Regions from separate parts of the Homo sapiens genome. Here region 2 is linked to region 1. Evidence: promoter capture Hi-C in 16 types of primary human blood cells and fetal thymus (Javierre and others, 2016). All regions are on one chromosome and are shown on one strand. The core of a region is centred on a gene start or on the middle of the fragment in contact, and the rest is flanking DNA. Distances in the headings are between cores, read along the strand shown.

What was found. Contacts are between HindIII fragments. The CHiCAGO score rates a contact against its expected background, and 5 or more counts as called.
Region 2: a contact is called between a fragment that was not itself captured here and the fragment with the promoter of TAF5L in region 1, in 1 of 17 cell types (total B cells). The highest score is 5.8, in total B cells.

The regions. Positions count from the first base shown.
Region 1 is chr1:229,624,077-229,630,109 of GRCh38, forward strand. TAF5L (TATA-box binding protein associated factor 5 like) reads right to left here and starts at 2,046. Exons shown (of 5, transcript NM_014409.4): 1 at 1,809-2,046. It overlaps URB2 (URB2 ribosome biogenesis homolog), which reads left to right and starts at 2,171. Exons shown (of 10, transcript NM_014777.4): 1 at 2,171-2,280; 2 at 3,545-3,683. The coding sequence starts at 3,558. RefSeq lists enhancers at 1-110, 955-1,004, 2,665-2,744 and silencers at 1,495-1,684, 1,775-2,474. The HindIII fragment of the contact is 3,723 bases long and covers 1-3,588 here.
Region 2 is chr1:230,144,809-230,150,380 of GRCh38, forward strand. All of the region lies in intron 1 of GALNT2 (polypeptide N-acetylgalactosaminyltransferase 2), which reads left to right. Among named protein-coding and RNA genes, the nearest start is that of GALNT2, 80 kb to the left of the region's middle. RefSeq lists an enhancer at 5,414-5,572. The HindIII fragment of the contact is 1,875 bases long and covers 1,452-3,326 here.

The sequences.
Region 1 (6,033 bases), core at 796-3,295:
CCAGCAAAACAAATTAGCAGAAACAAAACCCCCTTTCTTTCCCCAGAGATGTCCTTCACAGGTGCTAATATATTGCTTGCAAAACCAAAAACCAGTTACTGAGTAGTTAAGTGAGGCCTTTACCTAGTTTCACAGTGACAGAAGCTCACATAAGCCTCACATTTACAGGCAGGAGCAACAAAACTATTCCAAGATACACTAATTTAATTTGTTGTTGATGACAAAGAAAAATACTCAAAACAAGCCCACCTTTTAATTTTCTAGCTTAGCGCTGATTTTTAAGGCAGGAAGAATTTACGATTCATTAAAAAATTAGCATATATTCCATTTAACGCAAAAACTTAGGACTACAGGGAACCTAGAAGGTATTTTGCCAAAAAGGAAACGATAATAGCTAACATTTAGCTATTTTCATACACATCATTCTTTTTCTGGGTACCTTTAAAAAGGTCGTTTTTTGGGAGGCTGAGGCGGGAGGACTGCTTGAGCCCAGGCCTGGGCAACATAGAGGCACCCTGTCTCTTAAAGATAAAAAAAAATCCACGTTTAAGTTATTCCTTATCATCGCATTTTATAGATGAGGAAACTACAGTTCAGAGAGGTTATGCAGATGGCTACATGGTTTCCATCCTAGGTCTACTGTCACCAAGCTCTATCCACTACATTATGCTGTTCCAAAGTTTAAAGATGTGGCCAGATGCATTTAACCTATTAAGCACAAAACTCCCTTTCCTACTCCCCCTTCCAAGTAGAGCTGTGACCAGGAACTGGGGCACAGCCTCCGTGTCCTCCCCTACATCCCCAACTCAGGTGTTGGCACACTTGAATCGCCTGATATAAGACACGCTCCGCACTTAATGTTCCTCTCAGCACAGCTCCCAACTGCTTGTTAGCAGGAGTCACCATTCCGAGATTCCAATCTGCAAGGTCAGTTTAGGTACAGTAATTTAAGACAGACACTGCATGGGACTGGCACTTACCTTCTGATCCCAGAACCACAAAGACTGCGAGATCCGCATTACAACGACTTTCACAACTGATGGGAGAACTGCATGTAGCGTTCCTGCACTCCACTTCCGCTAAGTCTAAAATGACACCACTGTTTCTAACCATCCACTCACTTCGGACCAACGCCTTATCGAATACATTTTCAAAAGCCTGGCAGCTTCGCGAGCTGGAGGTGGTGAACCCGTCCCACACCATGGGCGCACCAACCTTACCTTGCTGTCATGAGGCAACGAGCCCCGAGAGACACCCTTGCAGGTAAGCACTCTCCTGCAGCAGCTAGTCTAACTCTGGCTCCCCCGTGTCACACGCGGAGATCGACTCCACACCCACCCACGCACGATCACCATGTGCAAAGTTGAATCCCGACTTCGCCGCAAAGACATTTCCTTTTCCCCTACATGCAAAGGAGCTGTGGAGCCGTGCTCCCTGCTTGGCTGTCGGGCACTGGGATACCTTCCCCGCGGGCGCCCGCCACCTCCTCCCCGAGCCCGGCATCCAACCCGCAGGACCCACCCCTGCGCAGGAACGCGACGCCAGTCCAGGTGTAGCCGCCGACTGCAGGCCACGCCGCCGGCCGCAGCCCGGGACTCGGGAGGCCGAGGGCGGAGGCGCGGCCGTCGCGCCCGCGCAGAGCCGCCCGCCGCCCCCCAGCCCCGCCTCCCGCGCCCCACCCCCACCGCCCGCCGGCGGGAGCCAAGGCGCGCCCCGCCGAGGCCCCACCGCCCCGGCCCCCGCCCGCCCGCGCGCGCGCGCGCCTCGCGACCCTCCCGGCCCTCCCCGCCCGTGCTCCCGGCACTCACTGAACATCCCAGGCGGCTCCGGCTCCCCCCGCCGCCGCCGCCTCCGGGATCGGGTTGCTTCCGCCTCCGTCGTCTCTGCCGCAGGGTCTCACTCCGACGGCCGGCTCAGCTGGGCCCCCGCGCCCCGCGCCCCGCCGCCCCCGCCGCCGCTCTGGGCGGCCGCTCCATGACTGACTGACACGGAGCGGGCCGCGGGCTGGGCCGCTCGGGCCTCCAACGCGCAACCGTCTCCGCCAATGGGCGAGGCGCCTCGGCGCTCGGCTGGCGACGCCTGGCGTGCGTGCAGCCCCTCCCCGCTGCGCCGCCGGCGTCCGGCGGAAGGAGCGCGGGTACCGGTCCCACGTGGTGGGGACGCGGGACCCGTACAGCGGCCTCCGCCGCACCGGGACAGCAGCCGCCGCCGCTGCCGCCGTCCTCCCCTGTCTACCCGGAGCTGTCTCGAGCTGAGCCCCCTACCGGGCCGGATCCCGAGGTGAGTCCCCCACCTGCGGTCAGCCCCTGCGGGCAGCCAGGTCCCGAGGTGAGTCCCCCCACCCGGGGCTGGTCCAGAGGAGATCCCCCTACCTAAGGCCGGGCCCAGATGGGGGGCCCCCCAACCCTGCCCAGTTCCGGTGCCGCCAGCAGACTCTGGGCTGGAGCGGCTTCGGCACGCTCCATTCGCGAAGGCGAACTCCCTCCTGGCTCCTAGCTGCTCTCCCCTGGTTCTTGTTGCTTGGTCTCTTTCTGCTGGGCAGGGAGTGCTGGCAGGGCTGTGCTGTCCGCCCTGGACTTCGCATTGCCCGGTAAGGGCGGTTGGAGGCCCGGAGAGCCGAACTCTGGCGGAGCCGGGGAGAGCATCTCGGTTGTCTTTGTAGCCAGTTCAGCAAACACCTGTTATGCACTTTGTAGCTGTCGCGATGGCGGTTCTATGGTATTGAACTTAGAAAGTCAGGCATCGTTGAATTCGTTTTGGACATTTTGACAAAATAGGAAAACTGACAGCACTTGACGTTCTTGTTCTCTGCAGTAGAGTGAAGGATAACTTAATTTCTAAAATGAAAACGTCTTAACGTTCCTTTTTACTATAACTTTTAGGAAACTCAAAGCCAAGTTTACCCAGTTTAATAGTAACTGTAGGTGTTTGGTATGTTTGCTACCCCCGAGATTTCATGGTTTTTTGTTTTCTATTTTTAGTCTTTTCCTTGTGCAAGTATCTCTTGTAGAGTCTTTTTTGAAGTGTATGTGCGTTGTAAATTTATACACGACTGAATAAAAGTGTTAGTGGAAGGTTACTGTTGCAGCTGAAATAACTGTATTCCTTTGGGGTTTTCTTTTTCACTTGGAGACATATTACTTTCTCCGGATATTGCTTATGTATCTTTTCCTCTTTCAATTTGAAACCATGTATGAATGACTCTTTCCACAAGTAATGTAATCACTGATTTTGGCCTTGTTGAATTCCTGAACACTCACCTTTGTGGAAGTGATGTTTGATCATAGCTGGAATACATATAGTCCATCTTCTGTGTGTGCAGTCCATCTTTTGCTTGCTTTTGTCTGAATTTCCCCCAGAAAATTCTGGAGTCAAGCATCTTGTATGTAGATTTACCCCGACAAATCTGTTGATTCATTAAAAACTTTTAAAAGAATACATATTAGGTAAACAAGATACAGTACTGCAATACTGTTGGTTTTCTGGTGCCTGCTCAGTCTGACATTGTTATAGTATTTTTTTTCCCATTGTTTTTAAATTTTAGATAAAGCCTAGCCATGGCTGCTGTTTATTCTGGCATTTCCCTTAAGCTTAAAAGCAAGACAACTTCCTGGGAAGATAAACTAAAACTAGCTCACTTTGCTTGGATTTCTCACCAGTGCTTTCTTCCAAATAAAGAACAAGTAAGTTTAATGTGAAACTCATATTTTTACAGTCTGTCAAGATAATTATCACTTTTATAATTTGGATATTGACAATTGGTTAAAATAAAAAAATAGAGAAAAAGTTGGGGAGGGAACTTTGTTGGAAGTTAAATGTAATGTCAATGAAAAAAGTAATGAGTCAGGTACTTCATTAATACATTTTTTTTTTCTGTTAAAAAACCTCATTTAGGTCGGGGACAGTGGCTCATGCCTGTCATCTCTATTTTGGGAGGCCAAAGCGGGGGATCGCTTGAGGCCAGGAGTTCTAGACCAGACTGGACAACATAATGAGATCCCATCTCTTAAAAAAATTATATATATTATATATGTATATATATGTATATATACATATATAATATATATATAATATATATAGTATATGTATAGTATATATGTATATAATATATATAATATATATGTATATATATTATACATATACATATTATATATGTATATATATTATACATATACATATTATATATGTATATAAATTAGTCAGACATGGTGGCATGTGCCTGTAGTCCTTACTACTTGGGAGGCTGAGGTGGGAGGATCCCTTGAGCCCAGGAGTTTGAGGCTGCAATGAGCTATGATTGTGCCACTTTCACTCCCAGCCTGGGCGATAGAGCAAGACCTTGTCTCTTTAAAATAAATGAACCCACCGAATTTAGCATTTCTTTTGTTTGGAGACATTATATTACAAACTAAGTATATGCATTAATGAACACATTGGGAATTAAGTTACAGAAGTTAGGTTCTGAAAGTCCATTGATAGCTGCATTTGCTTATAAATCCAAAGTGATGTTTCTTAAACTGTTGGTTGGTGGTGCTTTGTTAAAAGTCTTCCGCATTGGATAAATTGAAGGTTGGGAAGTAGAGAAATGTTAGTATTTGTATAAAGCCATTTTAGAAATGGGCTAGGTACCAAGAAAGGCATTGCATTTTGTTAGAATTTCTCAGGCTTTTTAGGCTAAAAATTAGTTGGCATGATAAACACCAGGATGACAAGCTCATGAAATTGGATTAATACACATCCAGTTGCTGTTGTCAAGGAAGACAGCACAAAATGCTTCCAAGATGGATGACATATGTAAAGCGATGATGACGTGTGGTGTGGAGAGCAGCGGTCATATCCAGTGCTTTCTACACCTGGCTGCACTTGGGAGTCATCTTGGCAGCGTGGCCATCACCTGGCAGGTGCTGCCCAGGGTGAAACAAAGGGGAGGCTCTAGCAGCCAATTGGATCAAGGTTTCTGCTGTTGTTATACTGAGAGATTTTATTCCTTCTGGCATCTGTCACTATTCATACTGTTATTGACAGTTCTGGGATTGTGAGCTTTCTTCAATGTTTTGTGAAGAGGAAACATGACACGTAATGGAACCTGTATAGATAGGCACAGTCCTCCTTTTCATAAAGCACTTGTATGATTTCATATCAACTGTGTCTGTCTCCCAGATGATGTATAAATATTAGTAGTATTAGAGGTTAAGCTGTAGGTAATGTGGGGGAAGCCAGGACACAAATCCCAGACTTTCAACTCTTAACTTACTTTTTTGCTTCGTGTGTCTGATACATTCTGTGGTCATTCTGAGCAGTCTTTGTATTTCTAACTTTTAGAACTTGGTACATGCATATCTCAGAGATACTGCAGGTTTGGTTCCACGTCACTGAAATAGATCACAATATTGTGAGTCACAGAAATTTTTTGGTTTCCTAGTGCATATAAAATTTATGTTTATACTATACTGTGGTTTGTTAAGAATGCAATAGCATTATGCCTAAAAAAAGTACATATCTTAATTTTAAAAAATTGCCCAAAAATGCTAGTGGTTATTGGTTATCTGAGCCTTTAGGGAGTCATCATGCTGGAGGGTCTTGCCTTAATGTTGATGATCTGGGTAGTGATTGCTGAAGGTTAGGGTGACTGGCAACTTCTTAAAATAAGACAACAGTGAAGTTTGCTGCATTGATGGAGCTTTTCCTTTCATGAAAGACACAGCATTTTACCCACAGTAGAACTTCTTTCTAAATTGGACTTCTCAAAACCTGCCACTGCTTTATCAACTAAGTTTAAGTTCTATTCTCAATCCTTTGTTGTCATTTCAGCAATGTTCACAGCATCTTCACCAGGAGTAGATTCCATCTCAAGAAACCACTTTCTTTGCTTATCTCTAAGAAACAACTTATCCATTCAAGTTTTATTAGTCCCATCTTCAGGCTCCACTTCTAATTCTAGTTCCCTGGCTATTTCCATTATATATGCAGTTGCTTCCTCCACTTCAGTCTTGAGCCCTTCAAAGTCATCCATGAGGACTGGAATCAGCTTCT
Region 2 (5,572 bases), core at 1,139-3,638, 520 kb after region 1:
CAACTATAAAGTATTAAAAAGCCTGGGAGTAGGTGGTTGATTTGGGGCAGAGGTTATGGTGTTGCTGATACAGTGGCTTCTAAGCTTCTTGTGGGAAGGATGAGTTTATCTTTGGCAGCCTTCAGTGATCTCCCCGCAGGCCTTGAGGTGAGATGTGTAGTGATGTCAGGCTCCTCTCTTGCTTGGTAACCTACAAACCAAGCAAGGTGAGAGGCCCGGCGGAGCATCCCAAGGGTCTCCCGATGGCCACTCCAGAGCTGCGTCATCTGTTTTCTGCTGCAGCATCTGCAGGCTCTCACTCATCCCGTTACACTTAGAGCGACCCATGTGCCTGTGGGCCCCTCCTGCCTCAGTACCAAGACTGTCCTTGGCACCCCCTCCCCAACCCCATTCTCAGATCGCCCCCTGTGTTGCTTGTTAGCAGGCAGGTTCCAGTGCAGACTGGCCGAATCTGAATTTCTCAGTGAGCGTCTCAGAAATCTGCACTGTCAGCTCCCCTGACCCCTAAGTTTGTGGGGTTTCCTGGCCAGGCCTCAGACTCTGGCAGTCGGGCCTGGGCCTTCTGAGGGGGTTTGTCCTGGAAATCCTGTCTTCCCCCAAGGGAAGCTCCCCCAAAGGAACCCTTTTAGGTGTCTGGTGTTTGAAGCCAGTCCCCCATTTCCCTCTGTTTTTGTTGTTATCACATACTGTAGGGATGGTTGTAATAAATACAGACTTTTAGAGAATGCAGCCAACTTGGTGGTTCTCTGGGGATTCCTCCGCTGAGGTCGGGGCTTAGACATTTACACGGTTTTCTTTTGCCTTTTGAGATTCTTATCCACAGCTAGTTGGTTGAAAGCCACCCACCTTGGCATAGTGCCAATGGGGGCCTTGCCCCGTGTGGTGCCTGATGCAGCACAGCAGGACGTCAGGCAAGCCCAGACGTCAGGCAGGCCCAGAACGTCACCTGTCTTCTTGGTGGCAGTGGTTCCATCTGGACTTGGAAATACCATGTTTGAAACAAGGTCCCTGTAATTACTTAATTGTAAAGAAATGAGAGGTAGCATTTCGGCTTGCTTGCCTGCCTGCCCAGCCCCTCTGGGAAGTGTGCCTTTCAAAGATGCTCGCCGCTTGCATTTTTATTATCCTGTGATTAAGAGAGAAGACGTTGGTCCACTCCTTGTCCAGGCTGCTTTGGGCTGTAGTGGACCTGCTTCTGGTGTTCCTTGAGGTTCTGCTTTCTTGTGAGGGTTCTTTTTTCTCTCTGCTTCTTATTAATCTGTAGCTGCTTATGTTTTTTGGCTTGGCTAAAAATAAGCACTTTTCCTTCTTCCTCCTGGGTTAGGAGTGAAAAAGACAGTCTTTGTATTTCTGCTGTTTGGAGTTGGATGTGAGAAATTGATAAGCTAAAAGACTGTAGTTATTTTTCCCCTCCCTTTTCATGTATCTCGTTAGGGAGCCCTGGAGGAGGAAGCTTTGGGAGGAGTCCCGCGCCTTCTCTCCCGCACCAGGTCTGAGAACTTGTTCGCAGCTATTCATGTCTTATGTGTGCCTGGTCACCCCTCTTCCTCTTTCAGTTTTGTTTTTTTGTTAATAGCTAAATCACATTTCTGGTTATTTCCTTAATATGGACAGTATTTTCATTTCCTCTGGAGGTGTTGATCGGAGGCCACTGCCTGCCTCCCTTCCTGACCCGGTTGGAGTGAAGCAGGTGTGGGCTCAGAAAAGCCTGCTTGGGAAGCACTCCTGTGTTCATTTACAACTCAGCCACCTTATACCAACCATACACTGCACACTCAGTATTAGATGAGAAAGGAGCAAACTCGGCTCTCAGGGAGCTGGGGCATTTAGGAAAAGGAAACAAATTAGTATAGTAAGATGCATTAATGAAACGGCATTGGGACTAACCTGGAGGGATGGCCCAGGTTGCAGGGGGAGGGGTGGGAAGGAGAGAGGGCATAGGGTGGGTGTCGTGCATGTAAGTGAAATGGCATGCCAGGGGCTGCACGCACCTCAGAGCGGCCCCACGTGTTGGCGGGGAGGCGTTATGCTGGAAACGTGACCTGTGAGGAGGTTAGGTAAGAACCACGCAGGGTCCTGTATGCTGCAGTCCAGAGCTGGCTACCGCCTGCACTGTCAGATCTCGGTGTCTGTCCCGCTGGCCGCACTGTGTGGGAGTCGTGGCAGGGGACAGACAGGAGGCAGGTGGGCCACTAGAGCCCAGGTGAGAAGGGAAGCAGGCCTTCAGCTGTGGCAGGGTGAATTGGGAAGGAGGGGCCAGAGTTAGAGAAACAGGAGGCAGTGTCTGCATATCTGGCCAGCTGGTGAGATGTTGGGGATGAGGGGTGGGCAGTGCCAAGCTGGGGGAGATTTCAGACCATGATTCTCAAAAGAATGCTCTCTGATTTGACAGCATCCTCAATTTGGAGGAATTACCTTTGTGTTCCTTCCAAGATGTTGTCCCTGGACTGATGAACTGAAACCCTTTCCTCTGGCATTTTCTAGTTTCCAAGATCGACCGTGAATTATAAAGACTTCATTTTATTCAACATTCATTGTGTTCAAACCTTCTAGCTGAAAGCCGCCTACTTTGGGGTTAAGGTGTGGGTTTGCCTATATTCACTTTGCTGTCCTTGACTCTTGGCCAACATTCCTAGAGCCCCTGCCACGGGACTGCTGTGGGCTGAGACTGGTGTCGCCTCTCCCTTGAAAGCATGGCCTGCTCTGCCGTGTGCCTGGCTTGGCCACTGGTTCTCCTTTCCTGGTCCCGCGGGGGCTTTTCTTTTCTTCTCTGTTGTAAAATAATCTCAGGCCAGGGCCACTCCTGGCCTACTCTTCGATTCTGCGAACAGTGGCTGGCTAGTGGTGTGGCCACATTCCCCTGCAGTGGTTGAGGCTAAACAGTCACTGTTGAGAGAAGCTGCCTTCCTCCTCCAAGAGTCCCTCCTTCCTGCCCTGTTGCCCTCTTCCCGTTGAAGGAGAGCTTCTGTCTCCTGAGTGAGGGCCTCAGCTCTGCCTGTGGGTCACCTCTGGCTCCCAGCCTGGAAGGCATTGCAGGCTTCATGAAGAGAGCTCGTCTTTAGCTGCTATTTCTAAGCATGATTGCTTGTTGGAGGTTGGCAGTGGTAGATGCTCCTAGCACACGTCCACACCTTCAGGGCAAACGCTCTGTCCCCAGACACTGTCCCTGTTTAGTTAGTTTCCTAAACTATGATCACTCAGCAACCTCGAGGATAGTCACTGTATTATTACATACAGGTGCAGCCCTCTTACATACCTGTGTGTGTGTCCAGCCCCACTGGACACATGCCTCCCACTTGCCCACACTCTTCCCCATCCCGCTTTAAAGCTTCAAATCTGAAAAGACAGTGGCGCTGCGTGGCTGAGAGCCACGAGGTGGACTTTAGGTGAAGGGCTGCCCACCGGCACAACCAGATCAGTGGCCAGCTCGGGGCGTGCACAGTGCACTCAGAGGGAGAGCCCTGTGGCACTGCGTTATTTTCCTCCTAGAGCTGAAGCCAGAAACCTGATAGGGAAAGGGGGCGTTTTCAGGGCTGGAGTAGTTCAGCACAGTCCCTTCCTCACTGTGGACTCCTTTTCTAAATCTGCAAGTCACAGGTAACCTGGGTGCATCCAACAGGTCCCACAGCCCTGGAAAGCCCTCGTTTAACACAAGTGCTCTCTGTCCTTGCTGCAGAGGCGGCTCCACGCCTTGCTTCTAGCGGTCCCTCACTCGCCTTCCGGAGTTAACTCCAGGGTGTGGGTCAGCCTTTTCAAGGGGTTTTGTTTTCTTTTTTTTTCTTTCTTTCTATTTTTGTTTTTGAGACAAGGTTTGTTGCCCAGGCTGGAGTGCAGTGGTGTGATCACAGCTCACTGCAGCCTTGATGTCCCTGGGCTCAGGTGATCCTCCCACCTCAGCCTTCCGAGTAGCTGGGACTACAGGTGTGCACCACTATGCCCAGCTAATTTTTGTATTTTTAGTAGAGACAGGGTTTCGCTCTATTGCCCAGGCTGGTCTCAAACTCCTGGGCCCAAGAGATCCACCCACCTCACCCTCCCAAAGTGTTGGGATTACAGGCATAAGCCACCATACCCAGCCCCACTCCTCCCCACCTTTTTTTTAAACAGGGCCTCGCCCTGTCACCCAGGCTGGAGTGATCACAGCTCATTGCAGCCTTGACCTCCTGGGCTCAAATGATTCTCCTGCCTCAGCCATCTGACTAGCTGGGACCACAGGCACGTACCACCACGCCCAGCTAATTTTTGCATTTTTTGTAGAGACGGCGTTTCTCCATATTGCCCAGGCTGGTCTCGAACTCCTGGGCTCAGGCAGTCCACCTGCCTCAGCCTCCCAAAGTGCTGAGATTACAGGCGTGAGCCACTGAGCCTAGCCTACTTGTTTAATTCTTGATTGCTTGATTTCAGAAGGTGCTGCTTCTGCTTTTATGGCTCCTGAAGTCATTTTATGGTCTTGACCTTGTCTCTCCTGGAGCGGGTGGGAGGACATTGCGAGGCCACCTAGATTGGACTTGTGTGGTTGAGCACTGGGTTCAGGAACATCCCTGGAGGGTGGGTGATGGTTGCTGCCTGCTTGCTGTTTTATAGGGTGTTTCTCTTACAGGCTGCCAATAGCTTGGTGGTTTGAGCATCCTATTATTGCAGTGATTCTTAGGTCTGGCGTTGAGGGCAGCAAGATTTCTGCCTAAACATAGTCCTTCTCTGTAGTAGTGATTCTAGGATGAGCCACTGTAGACAGGGGCATGTATTGAGTGCAACAAGCGGTTGAGGGACCTTAGATTTTGAGGGTTTTTAAAAACCGCCTGATTGGTTTGTGTGCGTCCTGCCACAGTGTTACCTAGGTGGGCTTAATGAGGTGGGAGTGGGCTTTTTGTTTTGTTGTTTTATGCCTCAGCCATGTAAATATAAACAGATACATTGAATCATTCAATGTCCAGAGTGGGAAATTACAGCCAAGCCCTCCTCACTTTTAGAATAGCATGGCGTGAATAACTGCAAAACCTCCCTCTGGTCTTTCCTGCCTCTTTAAGAGTTCTGTCTCCAGAGACTGGCAGAGCCGTCTCTGGGCAGATTTGCCGAATTGTTTCAGCAGGGCTTCTCCGGTGGCCATCAGATCAATTGATCTTGACACATGGGGTGCCTCTGAGGGCTTCTCACTCTTGATTTAATTCTCAGAAACGCTTCTCAACACCGTTGGTGTCTTTCTTAATTATACCATAATAGAGGTTGACAGCCACACAGTATGATGGACCCCAGGGTGAGGATGGCTGGGTGGGCTTGTGGGGCTGCTGAGGCAGAGACCTAGGAGGGTGCTCTCCATTCCTGGATGCGGAGCCCATGAGTGGCTTAAAAGACATGCACTGGCTCCGCCCTGGGGCCAGGAGAGCCATCGCCTGCTTGGTGACTGCAAAGCTGCCTACCTCCGTGTGCTGCCGTTTTTCTGTACCGAAGCTTCCCTCTTTACCTCACCATAGGAAGCCTGAGATGTAACACTCAGAAGAGGCTTGACAGGCTTGGAATCAAAGGCATGACTTCATACATCACCCAAGGTGTCATATTTCTTCTCAGAAACTTA